3 separate regions of the Homo sapiens genome follow, and regions 2 and 3 are each linked to region 1. Evidence: promoter capture Hi-C in human tissues and cell types (Jung and others, 2019). All regions are on one chromosome and are shown on one strand. The core of a region is centred on a gene start or on the middle of the fragment in contact, and the rest is flanking DNA. Distances in the headings are between cores, read along the strand shown.

The links. The method cuts DNA at HindIII sites, captures the fragments that hold promoters and counts their contacts. A contact is called where the count stands out against the background at its distance.
Region 2: a contact is called between a fragment that was not itself captured here and the fragment with the promoter of DALRD3 in region 1, in 3 of the 25 tissues and cell types used here (adrenal gland, hippocampus and pancreas).
Region 3: a contact is called between a fragment that was not itself captured here and the fragment with the promoter of DALRD3 in region 1, in 2 of the 25 tissues and cell types used here (adrenal gland and pancreas).

What each region holds. Positions count from the first base shown.
Region 1 is chr3:49,015,874-49,020,000 of GRCh38, forward strand. DALRD3 (DALR anticodon binding domain containing 3) reads right to left here and starts at 2,707. Exons shown (of 12, transcript NM_001009996.3): 1 at 2,527-2,707; 2 at 2,150-2,445; 3 at 1,740-1,996; 4 at 1,561-1,640; 5 at 1,355-1,483; 6 at 901-974; 7 at 739-800; 8 at 556-638; 9 at 285-467; 10 at 100-213. The coding sequence starts at 2,691. WDR6 (WD repeat domain 6) reads left to right here. Exons shown (of 6, transcript NM_018031.6): 6 at 1-78. RefSeq lists enhancers at 1,128-1,197, 1,483-2,254 and a silencer at 1,703-1,937. The HindIII fragment of the contact is 18,150 bases long and covers 211-4,127 here.
Region 2 is chr3:48,951,698-48,956,661 of GRCh38, forward strand. The region is part of intron 3 of ARIH2 (ariadne RBR E3 ubiquitin protein ligase 2); the gene reads left to right. Among named protein-coding and RNA genes, the nearest start is that of ARIH2OS, 35 kb to the left of the region's middle. The HindIII fragment of the contact is 8,935 bases long and covers 1-4,964 here.
Region 3 is chr3:49,050,333-49,055,296 of GRCh38, forward strand. All of the region lies in intron 3 of QRICH1 (glutamine rich 1), which reads right to left. Among named protein-coding and RNA genes, the nearest start is that of IMPDH2, 23 kb to the left of the region's middle. The HindIII fragment of the contact is 9,844 bases long and covers 1-4,964 here.

The sequences.
Region 1 (4,127 bases), core at 1,457-3,956:
TAGAGACAGAGACTGAGTCACTGGCCCATCTCTTTGCTCTTGTGCCCCAGGCCAGAATAAAGAATAGAGTGTAGAGTGTCCTGGTTGTCTATGCCTCACCATCTCTGTGCGTACAGCAATGTGGAGCCCCGGGGCTGTGCAGTCCAGCACTGCTGTCCGGCTCAGCAGATCCGGAAAGGGGAGGATACTGTTGAAGAGCAACAACCACTCACCCTGTTGGGGAGAAAGGTGCTGGGAGGGGAAGTCCAGGCCTCCTTGTGCCAGCTACCAGGAGGGACACTCACCTCATCATGTAGCAGTGAGAAGTCCAGACTGCTCACAGGAGGAAAAGTGGGGTACAGACCTTGTTCCATACTACACTTGTAACTCTCAAAGAGTGTGGCAAGACGGGCACAATTATACATGACAAAGGTGCCACTCTTTGTGCCCTTCGTGGAGATACTGCTGTCAGCCAGAGCCAGGAAGAGCTGGGGAATAGAAGCACAGCTGCAGAGAGAGAAGGCAGCCACCACACCCTGTGCCCCAACACTGGCCCTGTCAGGCTCCCAGGCTCACCTGACTCTGTGGGGCTGTGCTCAGCATCTCAAACTTGATGGTGGCCACAGAGAGAACACCAAAGATCTCTGTCCAGGCTGGGTCTGAGGGAGTATAGGGTTGGTCAGTCAGTCTGCAGGCAAGGGCAGGGATGCAAAAAACCTGCCCCTAACCCAGAACATAGCCAGGGTTTCCCAGGCACACCTTGTGCCAGATCCCCACCATGCTTCAGTGCTGAGGCCTTGCACACCTGGGTATGCCGGAACCTGTGTTTGGAAGAGAGGAAGGCCAGTGGGCAGGGTCCTGGGTAAAGAGTCCCCCCTCATTACCCTGGCTTAGGTTGGTGTTCCTCCCAGCCTCACTCACTCGTAGTACTCAGGGGCAGTCATCAGAGTGCCAGGTGCACCAGCTACTTTCACAGGGCCACAGATGAGGTGCTTCTGTCAGAAAGATGTCAGGGGCTCAGCCTAGTTGGCGCTACTCTCCAGGAAGTCCCTTGAGGAGCCCAAATCTGGTGCCTCTACTCAGCCCAGACTCCCTCAAATTGGAACTGCCAGGTTGAGTGCCTCCGTCTACCCAGCCACTCAGGCTACGCATGGTTCATCCTTCTCAACCTGGTCTTCAGTGTTCTTGGGATGTGTCTACAGACCCCCCTTCCCCAGAGCCTCTGCACCTGCTGTACATGCCCTCTCAAGTCCAGCAACTCCCCCAAGGTCAAGTGTTGGTTTCTGTCAGCTAACAAGCCCCTCGGTGGGTTTTCAAGGGCCCTCTGAGGTTGGGGGTTAGGTGGTGGGGAGCTCCACCATCATTATTAACCTACCTGTCTGAGTGGAGCCTTGTCAACCAACTTCTGCCAAAGCAGGTCCAACTTCTGTTGCTGGAACTCCTCCTCACAGCTAACAACATGTACAACCAGGCAGCCGCCTGTACCAGTATCTGAGGCCCCAGCCTAAGGGAGGACAATCATAACTGTGGAAGTACAGTATACTTGGTTTGGGAGAACCTACAGGGCTGGGAGTCACTAACCAGGCCTGGGTGGCTGTCCTCGGGCCAATGCCATAGAGCCTCTTGCAGCTCAGCCAGCACAGAGAGGAGATCCTCAGTCACTGAAAAGAGAACAGACAGGTGCTGAGACTGACAAGAAGCAGAGATGTGCCCCTAACCCCCTCCTGCCTTTTCTGGCCCTGCTAGGCTTCAGGTCCTACCCAGACAGTTGTCCAGGTTGGGGTCATAGCCAGCTGTGCGGCCCTGTTCTTCCACCAGCTCCTTCAGACACAGTCTGCCTAGGATGCCAGGGGACAGTGTCCTCCCGTCATTAGCAGAGGTAAGTTCTTCAAGGGCGTGGCTCCTCAGGGTGTGGGAGGAAGCTCTCTCCGAGGCAGCGGGCCAGTCCACCCGCAGTTGCTGCAGGAAGGTCAGCATGTGCGGATCCCGCACAGCTGGCACTAGGCGCACGCACACCCTGCGAAGGGAGGGCGGCCGCCTCAGTCTGAGCACCTGGTCCAGCTCGCCACGACTTCCCACCTCCAGCCGCAGTCCCCACGGGCGGCGCCGCTCGCTTTCTAGGTACCCGGCAGTCCCACTTTCTCCATTCCGGCCCCGCGGCCCCGCTCACCCGTGAGCGCGCAGGGCTCGCGCCAGGTGATCGGCCACGAGCACCGTACGCAGCTGGCTCAAGCGGAGTGCGCAGGGGGAGCTGCGCAGTGCTGGGCAGTGTAGTAAGACGCGCTGGCCCAGCGAGGCAGGCGAGGCGGGCGTGGCATAGGCGGCCACGGCGCTGAGGACGCGCTCGAAGACGGCGGACCGCTGCAGTTGGAGAGACAGACCCGCGGGGGTCGGCGCGCAGCGCAGCACCGGGGCCACACCGGGGCCCTGCAGGCAGGCGAGGGCATGGAGCAAATGCTCCGGAACCTGCGGGAGAACGGGCGTGTAAAAGAGCCACGGCACGGGGCCCATCTCCCGGCCGCACGGCCCCGCCCGGCTCACGCCCACCTGGCCGTCATCGAAGCGCGCCTGCAGCGCGCGGTGCGGTGCCAGAAAGTCTCGGGAACGCAGGTGGCGGGTGCGCGTCTCCTTGATCCACACCGGACCGCCTGGCCCCAGGGCCGCGTTGAGGGCCCCCAGCGTCTCCCCGACCCCAAGGCGCCTGGTCGCCATGGTGACCGGAAGGAGTAAGCGGAACCGGAAAAAAATTTAGGGAGGTGGAACTTCCGGAAAGGACCGACTAGCTGGGGCGGGGATGCGGCGGTGGTCCCCGTAAGTGGACAGGTGCGCCAGTGGTAGCCCTGTCGGCTGCTTTCGACCTACCGCCCCCAGCGCCCCTTCCGCGTGGTCCACCTGCACAGCCGGGCCCCGGATCTGAAATCTCGGGGCCCTCCCTGGGCCTAGGGTTCTTTCGCTGTGACCCAGGCCTTAACCAGGAAAAGGATCCTCGCGACCCGGTGGGCGCTTAGACCGGGTACCGTCTCTTCTCATCGAAGTCTCACATGTTTGTTTTAATAACATTTCATTTCTCCCATTTTACACATGATGAATATTCGTCACTGGAATAAGGCAGTATAACATTAAGGCCACTTTCACGACCTACTTAAAATATCTCGTTTTAAAAAGAATAGTGTTCCGCGGTTTCAGGTTATTTGCAAGCATTTTCTCGTTTGAGATATGGGTGTTTTTTTGTTTGTTTGAGACGGAGTCTTGCTCTTGTCTCCCAGGCTGGAGTGCAGTGGCACGATCTCGGCTCACTGCAGCCTCCACCTCCCGGATTCACAGGATTCTCCTCCTCAGCCTCCCGAGTAGCTGGGATTACGGGCGCCCGCCACCACGCCCGGCTAATTTTTGTATTTTTAGTAGAGACGGGGTTTCGCCATGTTGGCCAGGCTGGTCTCGAACTCCTGACCTCGTGACCTGCCCGCCTCGGCCTCCGAAAGTGCTGGGATTACAGGCATCAGCCACTGCACCCAGCCCGGGTGGTCTTTATGCCCAATAAATAAGCACTCTGATACAGTTGGCGGTTTTCTTCTCTTGATACCTGAGAAATCACAACCATCATGATGGCTTCCAGAATTACCAGACTTTTTTTTTTTTTTTTTGAGACGGAGTTTCGCTCCTGTTGCCCAGGCTGGAGTACAGTGGTGTGATCTTGGCTCACCGCAACCTCCCCCTCCCGGGTTCAAGTGATTATCCTGCCTCAGTCTCCCAAGTAGCTGGGATTACAGGCACGCGCCACCACGCCCGGCTACTTTTGTATTTTTAATAGAGACGGGGTTTCTCCATGTTTGTCAAGCCTCGAACTCCCGACCTCAGGTGATCCGCCTGCCTCGGCCTCCCAAAGTGCTGGGATTACAGGCGTGAGCCACCGCGCCCGGCTCAGAATGACCAGCTTTTAATGTGACTCCTTTAACCTGGTGTGCTTTAACAACGATCCTTAAAGCTTCCTGTTTTAGGCAACAGCCATTTACGGGCCAACCAAATAATGCGACCATAATAGAAAATAGGCCTCAGTTGGAGTATCTTGCTCCTCTACCAATAGGAAAGGTCTTTTTCTTTCTCCCACAAAGGTTCCCAAATGTCTTCATTTCACTGTAACTTACTCA
Region 2 (4,964 bases), core at 1,663-4,162, 64 kb before region 1:
TTATTAGAATTAGGTTATTCATAACATTTTCTTATTTTCCCTTTAATGTCTATAAGAATTGTAGGGGGTGGTCCATCTTCTACCTCTGTTATGGATAATTTGTTTTCTCTTTTTTCCTAATTGTTCTGTTTTATCAACTTTGTTGATATTTTTAAAGAATCCATTTTTAGACTTCGTTAATTTTTGCTGTTACTTGGATTTTATTTCTTTCTCTTTTTAATTGTTACTATTTTCTTCTTTTTACTTCGTTTTAACTTAGTCATCTTTTTCTAGCTTCCCTTTTTTAGCTGTAATACACGGCAGTGACTAAATTTTTCTAGCGTCTTAGGTTAGATCTTTATGTCATTGATTTTTGGACCTTTTTTAATATATACATTTATAGTTTTAAATTTTTGTGTAGGCATTATATTAGCTGCATCTCACAAATTATGTAGTATTTTTGTTATTCAGTTCAAAACATTTTCTAATTTCTCTTTTGATTCCTGCTTTGACACAGGGGTTCTATAGAAGTATGTTCTTTAATTTCTAAATGTATGCTACAAAGAAGGGCATTATTGGTAGCTGACAGTTAAGAGAAACATATGGGGGTTCTGGAATCATTCAGTGAATTGCTGTGGGGAGGAATTAGGTGATGGGTCCTGAAGACTCTCTTCTACTAAGGCATATAAAGTTTGTCCTGTCAATACTGGAGAGCAGTGATGGGTTTTAAACAAGGTAGGAACTGATCCTGGCAAGAGTTAAGGGATCTGCAAGAATTGTGTTATTATTACTGTTGCATAAGGGTGTCAGGAAGCTCATCCTGAGGATGATGGAGTGGAAGGGATATACATTAAGATGCCTTTCCATGTGAGTGAGGCCCTTCTGATGGGAGTGCTGAGGAGAGGAAGAACTAGAGATTGGACACTGGAGTGGTGATGATGGGAGAGGGTAAAGTGGTTAAGGAAGAGTGAGACGTGGAGGAAAAGGCCAACAGTCCTACCTTGAGAGGAGTGGGAATGTGGTGCCCCCCACTGGCAAGATGGGGATACAAGAGGAAGAGCACAGAGTACCTGAACAGGTGCTGCAAAAGACATCATAGAGATCAAGAGGGGGTCATTAAGGCAGAAGGAAGTTAAGTGTCTGATTTCTGTCAGCAAGATAAGGTATGAGAAATGTTTGAATTTGGCAACAAGGGAGTTTATATTGCCTGGTATATGTGCATAAAGAAAGAATATCTTAGTATTTCTACTGTCAGCAATTTTTTTTTTTTTAAACGCAGTCTCGTTCTTGTCACCCAAGCTAGAGTGCAGTGGCGCGATCTTGGCTCACTGCAACCTCTGCTTCTCGAGTTCAACCGATTCTCATACTTCAGCTTCCCAAGTAGCTGGGATTACAGGTGCCCACCACTATGCCCGGCTAATTTTTATATTTTTAGTAGAGACAGGGTTTCACTATGTTGGCCAGGCTGATCTCAAACTCCCGACCTCAGGTGACCTGCCCGCCTCGGCCTCCCAAAGTGCTGGCATTACAGGTGTAAGCCACCGCGCCTGGCCAGCAATTCTGAGTAGATTGAAATTCATCAATTGAAATCAACATCTTATCAAATTATGAGCCAAACTGAATTAAAATCAGGAATAATCTGTGAATTTTTAATTTATGATTTTGGCAGTTAGACCCCATAAGCTTTGAAAAGTATTATAGTTATTAAACATGATTATTCATTTTCTTTTTTTTATTTTTTATTTTAGACGGAGTCTCGCTCTGTCTCCCAGGCTGGAGGGCAGTGGTGCGACCTCGGCTCACTGCAAGCTCCGCCTCCCGGGTTCACGCCATTCTCCTGCCTCAGCCTCCTGAGTAGCTGGAACTACAGGTGCCTCACAACGCCCGGCTAATTATTTGTATTTTTAGTAGAGACGGGGTTTCACCGTGTCAGCCAGGATGGTCTCGATCTCCTGATCTCATGATCCGCCCACCTGGCCTCCCAAAGTGCTGGGATTACAGGTGTGAGCCACCACGCCCAGCCATTATTCATTTTCTTGAAACAGTGTCTTGCTGAGTCACCCCGGCTGGAGCGTAGTGGCGTGATCATGGCTCACTGCAGCCTCTACCTCCTGGGCTCAAGCGATCCTCCTACCTTAGCCTCCTGAGTAGCTGGGACTACAGGCACATGCCACCATGCCCAGCTAATTAAAAAAAAAATGTTTTGGCTGGGCGTGGTGGCTCACACCTGTAATCCCAGCACTTTGGGAGGCCGAAGCGGGTGGATCACCTGAGGTCTGGAGTTTGAGACCAGCCTGGCCAACATGGTGAAACACTCTCTACTAAAATACAAAAATTAGCCGGGAGTGGTGGCAGGTGCCTGTAATCACCGCTACTTGGGAGGCCGAGACAGGAGAATCGCTTGAACCTGGGAGGCGGAGGTTGCAGTGAACCAAGATCGCGCCATTGCATTCCAGCGTGGGGACAGGAGCGAGACTTTGTCGCAAAAAAAAGAAAAGGCCGGGCTTGGTGGCTCACGCCTGTAATCCGAGCACTTTGGGAGGCCGAGGCAGGCGGATCACAAGGTCAGGAGATCGAGACCATCCTGGCTAACACTGTGAAACCCCCGTCTCTACTAAGGCATCGTGGTGGGCACCTGTAGTCCCAGCTACTCAGGAGGCTGAGGCAGGAGAATGGCGTGAACCCGGGAGGCAGAGCTTGCAGTGAGCCAGGATCGCACTACTGCACTCCAGTCGGAGCAACAGAGTGAGACTCTGTCTCAAAAAAAAAAAAAAGTTTTTTTCTACGTATAGGATCTCACTATTTGCCCAGGCTGGTCTCAAACTTCTGAATTCAAGTAATCCTGCCACCTTGGCATCCCAAAGTGCTGAGATTACAGGCTTGAGCCACCACACCCAGCCTGTAAGTATTCTTTACTCATGGTTTTGTGAATGTACAAAATGACTGTCAAAGAGATTCCACCATCTTAGGGTTTGCTCTTTAAACAGGGATGAGATTTCCTCTGGGGAATAGTGGAAATGAATTGGAGAATGGGTTTGCTGGAAACAGTAACCTAATGAATGGTACCCTTTTTGGCCCTTGATATGGAGGGAACAATAGATACCTTTTTTATCTCTGATTAGAGACTCAGATTACTCAGTAATTATCTTGAGACTCCTTTTGGACAAGAAACTTTCTAGTTTTTAATTTCTAGTTTTTTCCTCAGTTAATGTTTCTAGAAATAGAAAAAGCATTCATAGTGCCGGGTGTGGTGGCTCATGCCCATAATCCCCACACTTTGGGAGGCCGAGGCAGGATGATCACTTGAGGTCAGGAGTTCGAGACCAGCCTGGCCAACATGGTGAAATCCCATCTCTAGTAAAAATACCAAAAATAGCTGGGCGTGGTGTTGAGTGCCTGTAATCCCAGCTACTTGGGAGGCTGAGGCAGGAGAATCACTTGAACCCGAGAAGCAGAGGTTGCAGTGAGCCAGCGTCGCGCCACTGTACTCTAGCCTGGGCGACAGAATGACACTCCATCTCAACAGAAACGAAAAAGAAAAAGCATTCATAAATAAATAGGACTTTTAATCCTCTGGTTACATGTTGATCTAATAGAACTGCAAGTTTCTTCTGAACACCACATTGGTCACATGTGTTCCTTCTAAGTCATTAGTCTTTTTTTTTTTTTGGCTTACATTGGTTGTTTACTACCCTGGATCCATTTTTCTTTTGGAAAAGATTTGGCCTTTTCTTTATAAGTTGTCTTGATAATACTTAATCCTAACTACCAACAGGTTGTTAGCTCCTTCATTACAACAGCCCAGCAAGAGCTCTTCTTGATTCTACTGAAAGGTTTTCTCTTCACAATTGAACAAATTATAAAGGGTAACAAGGGGACAGGGGGTGAAGGACTCAGTTATGAAAGTGTTGACTGTGATAGATTCTAAATGGATTGTTGAGCTCTTTCAAGCATTAAAGACTAATGGTGTGAATACTAGTTCGTTCCTTAGAAAGCTCAGCTGTTTGTACTCAGACAGATTTTTACCTTTAATCTGGCTTAATATTGTTTAGAAGATTTGTTTTGGCCCTCCTGCCAGGAGGCCAAGATGGCTCAAGGTGGCCACTGCTTCCTCTGGAAAACTGCTGGGGAGTTGAGATGGGGGTTCAGTCAGTTCTCTCTTGTGACCCAAATCAGGGAGAAGGTAGCCTCCTTGCTGAGACTACCTTTTAGAATATATTATTCTAGAGTATCATTTTCTCACTGTTTTTCTCCATCTCTGTGCTGCTTTTGCTCAGAGGACTCTGGGGAATCTGGCTTTCCTGTAGATCCTTCCTGGTGTCCATTACTGGATGAGGTGCAGTGACACTACATTTTCCCTTAATTAGTGGTCTCAGAATCTCATCAGGTTTGTAGTAGATTTTTGAGAGAGAGAGTCTCCAATCTTCTGTGTACTATCAACCTAATATGTGTAATTATCTCCTTTACTTTTTTTTTTTTTGAGACGGAGTCTCACTCTGTCACCGAGGCTGGAGTGCAGTGGTACCATGTCGGCTCACTGCAACCTCCATCTCCTGGGTTCAAGCAATTCTACTGCCTCAGCCTCCCGAATACCTGGGATTACAGGCGCCCGCCACAACACCCAGCTAATTTTTATATTTTTAGTAGAGACGGGGTTTCACCGTGTTGGCCAGGCTGGTCTCGAACTCCTGACCTCAGGTGATCCGCCTGCCTCTGCCTCCCAAAGTGCTGGGGTTACAGACGTGAGCCACTGCGCCCGGCACTTTTTTTTTTTTTTTTTTTTTTTTTTTTTTTTTTAAGAGACAGGGTTTTGCTGTGTTGCCAGGCTGGCTGTGGTGTTGAACTCCTGGGCTAAGCAATTCTCCCGCCTCAGCCTCCTGAGTAGCTGGGACCACAGGCATGAACCACTGTGCCTGGCAGTCACCCCCACCTTGATGTGGGGATCCCAGTAGTGTCTCTTACAGAAGGCTGCTGGGAGATGCATA
Region 3 (4,964 bases), core at 1,478-3,977, 34 kb after region 1:
GAATCGCTTGAACCTGGGAGGCAGAGGTTGCAGTGAGCCAAGATGGTGCCACTGCACTCCAACCTGGGCGACAGAGCCAGACTCTGTCTCAAAAAAAAAAAAAAAAAAAAAAAAGAATGTGCTTGGATTCTCAAAGGTGCTATAAAATGGCAAAAAATGAATTCAAATCACCCAAAGCCCTAGTTTCGCTCACTCACTAAATTCAAAAAACATGTGCAAAGTTTTGCATCAGGCCCAGAATACTGCGATATATTAAATTACAGTCCAGGGCAAAGAGCTGATTCAATCTGCAGCGTTGTGAAGAAAATCTTTGGCATCAGTTTTTCTCCTTAACTGCACTGACTAATCCAAGGATCACAAAAAACAACAACAACAACAACAACAACAACAAAAACCTATTACTCAAACAATTTCTTTGAAACAGTTCCATGAACTGCCAACCATCATGCCCCTCTAAGACATCTAGCACAGACCAGGAGGGCAGCTGAGCTCAGGGCCAGAGGACCCAATAGCAACAGAAGCCGCTGAGTGACCCATGCAGACATCCCCTCCTCCCCACCACCCACAGGCCCAAGCCTCCCTTTACCTAGTCAATAAGTACTTTCTTAGCTCAGGGAGCAACCCATCTTTCCCCCACTGTTTTATTAAAAAGTTTGTCACCAATTACCGTCTTGCTCAAAGCCAAGTCTCTAGCTGGGCCCAGACATTCTTGCCCTTTCTTCTACTTTTAATCTGAGGACTCATTCTCTGATTTCCATAGACCTTTGATCCAGATGCTGCATTCAGAGCTCCAATCACTATTCTGTCTACCCCAGAAATGAGCAATCTCTTCTTGGTGGCCTGTAGTAGCTGCTGCCACCACTACCAGCAATACCACCCTCCTTGTACTCCCCAGTCACATACACCTGAAATGAAAGGGTCAAATGCAATGGATGCTTTGGCCTTAACCTACTGGACCTTTCTGGCACATCCAACAATGTCACTCACAACATTGTCCTTTGCACTCTGCTCGGCTTCCTGATATATCATCCTCCCGGACCTCCCTCAGCTATCTAGCAGCTATTTCTCTGTATGCTTTGGGTTTTTCTCTGCCAGGCCCTTACGTGTTTGTCAACCATAGAGCTCCTCTATAGACCCACTTCTCATTTCAACTACATGTTCTCCCTGGTGAGTCTCACCCACTTTTCCAGTTTGGATATCCATATTTGTCAAAGTGACCACTATGTACCTCCAAGCTAGAACCCCCCCTGCGCCCCCCCCCCCCTCCGCTTAATATACCTAGTGGGTACTATACATCTCCAACTGAACAACTCATAGCCACCTCAAACTAACATCTACAAAGAGTATTCATTAGCTTCCCTGCCCAGATCTATTCTCCTGAGTTACCTCTCTCCTTCGTTCAATGGCAACATCATTTACCCAAACTGGAAATCCAGGAGTCTGGCTGAACAAGTAGGCAGTGGCTAGAGCATGGGAGGCAGTGCTTCTGTAGCAGGCCCCCTTCACTGTGTGCTTCCAAACACTAAATGTCAGTTAACATTCCCAAGCATCTTCCAAAAATTCTTCCAAACGTGTCCAAATGTCTATCAGTGGGTGGAGGAGGCAATAATGCAACCCAGGTTGAAAGCTACTCATACAGAGTATTGTACATTGTGGTGTAAATTTGTTCCTACATATAATGGAAGCCTTGGAGAGTTTTAAGCTAGGAAGTGACATAATCTTGTATTTTATGATTATTCTATGAAGAATAAATTGAAGAACAAGAATGGAAGCAAGTACTGGTGGCCTAGACTATAGTGGTGGCAGTGGAGATGATATAAGAGATTTTGAGAGGTGTGATGGTAGAACCAACATGGCTTGTTGATGAACTGGTTGTGGGGAGTAAGGGAAAGCAGACACAAAGATGACTCCTGGGTTTCTGGTTTGAACAACTAGGCGGAGAGCAGCACTACTTTCTGAGACAAGGAAGTTTGACAGTTTTAGAAATGGTGCCAATGAAGATCTGAGGTATTGTCAATAAGTCCAAGTAAATGCTAAGTAGGCAGCTGAATATGTGGAAAAGGTTCCAAACAGAGGAAGGCATGGCCGAGAGACTTATGTGTCAGTGCAGCACAGGGATTAAGACACAGGCTCCAGGGCCAGCCCATGCAGGGTTGAATCTCAATTCTGCCCCTTTTTTGTTTGTTTGTTTGAGATGGAGTTTCGCTCTGTCACCCAGGCTGGAGTGCAGTGGCGCGATCTCGGCTCACTGCAACCTCCACCTCCCAGGTTCAGGCAATTCTGTGCCTCAGCCTCCCAGGTAGCTGGCGCCCACCACCATGCCCAGCTAATTTTTTTATTTTTTTATTTTTTAGTAGAGACGGGGTTTCACCATCTTGGCCAGGCTGGTCTTTAACTCCTGACCTCGTGATCCACCCACCTCGGCCTCCAAAAGTGCTGGGATTATAGGTGTGAGCCACCACGCCTGGCCAATTCTGCCACTTTTTAAGCATGGCTTTGGCCTTGTCACTTAATCTCTCTGTGCCTGAGTTTCCTCATCTGTAAAACAGAAGTATCAGTACATACTTCATAAGGTTAATGTGAAAATTAGAAGAATATGTTAAACATCAAGAACAGTAGTACTGGCAGATAGTATCAGTGATTATCATCTTCAGCAGCAGCAAGAATCATCTGGAGGATGCTGAAAACCATGGCAATGGAAAGAAATCCCTTAGGGAGAAGAGGGCCAAATACTGAACCCTCAGGAACATCAACATGTATGATTCAGAGAGAGGAGGAGAAGGCACCGGTAAGCCTCCTGGGAATAAAGAAGATTCAGATGGGTAGGAGGAAAATCAGGAATGTGTAATAACATGCAAGTCTAAAGAAAGTCTCGGCCAGGCGCGGTGGCTCACGCCTGTAATCCCAGCACTTTGGGAGGCCGAGGCAGGTGGATCACGAGGTCAGGAGATCGAGACCATCCTGACTAACATGGTGAAACCTTGTCTCTACTAAAAATACAAAAAATTAGCCGGGTGTGGTGGCGGGCGCCTGTAGTCCCAGCTACTCGGGAGGCTGAGGCAAAATGGTGTGAACTCGGGAGGCGGAGGTTGCAGTGAGCCGAGATCGCACCACTGCACTCCAGCCTGGGTGACAGAATGAGACCCCCTGTCTCAAAAAAAAAAAAAAAAAAACAAGTCTCAACAATGGGCTGCTGTGTTGTATGTTGCTGTAGGATAAAAACATACTTGCTGGTCTGAACTGGCTATAGGGGGGTCACTGCTGACCTTGACAAGAACAGATTTAGTCATGAGTTGAAGGGAAATTTTTACAGCATCTAGAGCCCAGCTTGTGTAGATAATGTTTCTTTAGAGTTCTGGCAATAAAGTAGAACAGAAAAATGGGGCCACAGATGGCGGTTGGTGTGAGGAAGTGAGATTTCACCATAAATCTGGTTTTAAAGACAGAAGATATGATAGCTTTCATAAAAGGTATGGCCCTCTCCAACCTGTGGCAGATGAAGGAACACATTTTGTCACTAGCTCCCCTTAGGGTTCAACTTGACTGTCTTCTGCATGTGCTGTAAAGTGGTCCAAGGGTAGAAAAGACTGTCTTATTCATCTCTATTCCCCAGCTCCTAGCACAGAGCCTGCATAAGAGGGGAGAGGGATGTTTGTGGTATATATAGACAAACTCATCTTTCCCTTGGCATCTTTCCCTTGGGATGGAAAATCGGGATTCTTCACAATTTTTCTATTTCTGGTAATAATAACTTCATGTAAATCACTCTAAGACTTTCCCAAATCAGATACAGCCTCTGAAGAACACTGGCCCACTAAAATGAACTCCAGAAAGGATCTTCTCCTGCTGAAGACCCAGACATGGAAATTATAAACAGAGACCACTAAGTACCAAATGAGGCACTGACCTGCAATTGGACCATCAGGCCCAGGAGAGCTAGGGGAGGCCTAATGGGCTCCATCTCTGTGAACAAAAGCTGAGCATAGAGACCTGTTACAAATCTACTGGCTAGTTTCTCCTATATGCAGTCAATTCTACACACATCTACTTGATTCCTCCTGTTACCACAAATCTAGGAAATTCCTGATTTCCTACCACAGATTAGATCAAACTCAGTTCTACTTTGGGAAGGCAACAACCCCACCCCCACCCCTCAATACTAACTCCATTCTCACAGTTCCCTTCTCAAGTTGCATTAGGGCATGTCCCTTCTGTCCATCCTTGGCTCTGTATTTATGCTGTTCCATTCTTTTGTTTATCTAAACTATAAACTACAGTTCAACAGTTCAAGGCAGGGTGCAGTGGCTCATGCCTGTAATCCCAACATTCTGGGAGGCCAAGGTGGGAGGATCACTTGAGGCCAGGAGTTCAAGAGCAGCCTGGGCAACACAGTGAGACCCTGTCTCTACAAATATATATATATGCCGAGTGTGGTAGTCTGTGCCTATAGTCCCAGCTACTTGGGAGGCTGAGGCGGGAGGATTTTATGAGCCCAGGAGTTAGAGGCTACAGTGAATTATGATCACTACCATACTCCTACCTGGGAAACAAAGCAACAACCTGTCTCAAAAATAAATAAACTACAGTTCAAACGTCATTTTGTCCACAAAGACCTCTGTTGACTTCTTAACCTAGAATTTCTAAATTCCCAGTTTGTCTTTGTGTATATGTCATAATTATTCTGCCTTATAAATAATTCGAAGGAAAAGAAATCCTGAGTTCTTACTTTTCACAACTAGACTCTAAGCTATATGAAGCAAAAAACCTTCTCTTATTCTATTTCTAGGCCCAACAGCTAGATATTTAGCAGGTCCTTAACAATGTCACCTAGGATAATATGATACTGCCTCTATGAAACCACCTGGTCAACCTTTGCTTAATTAATCACTTACAGCCCATGTTTCCAAGTGCAGTCCCTTATCTAACTTGTTTGTACCAGCTCCCACAAACATATGCATGCTCAG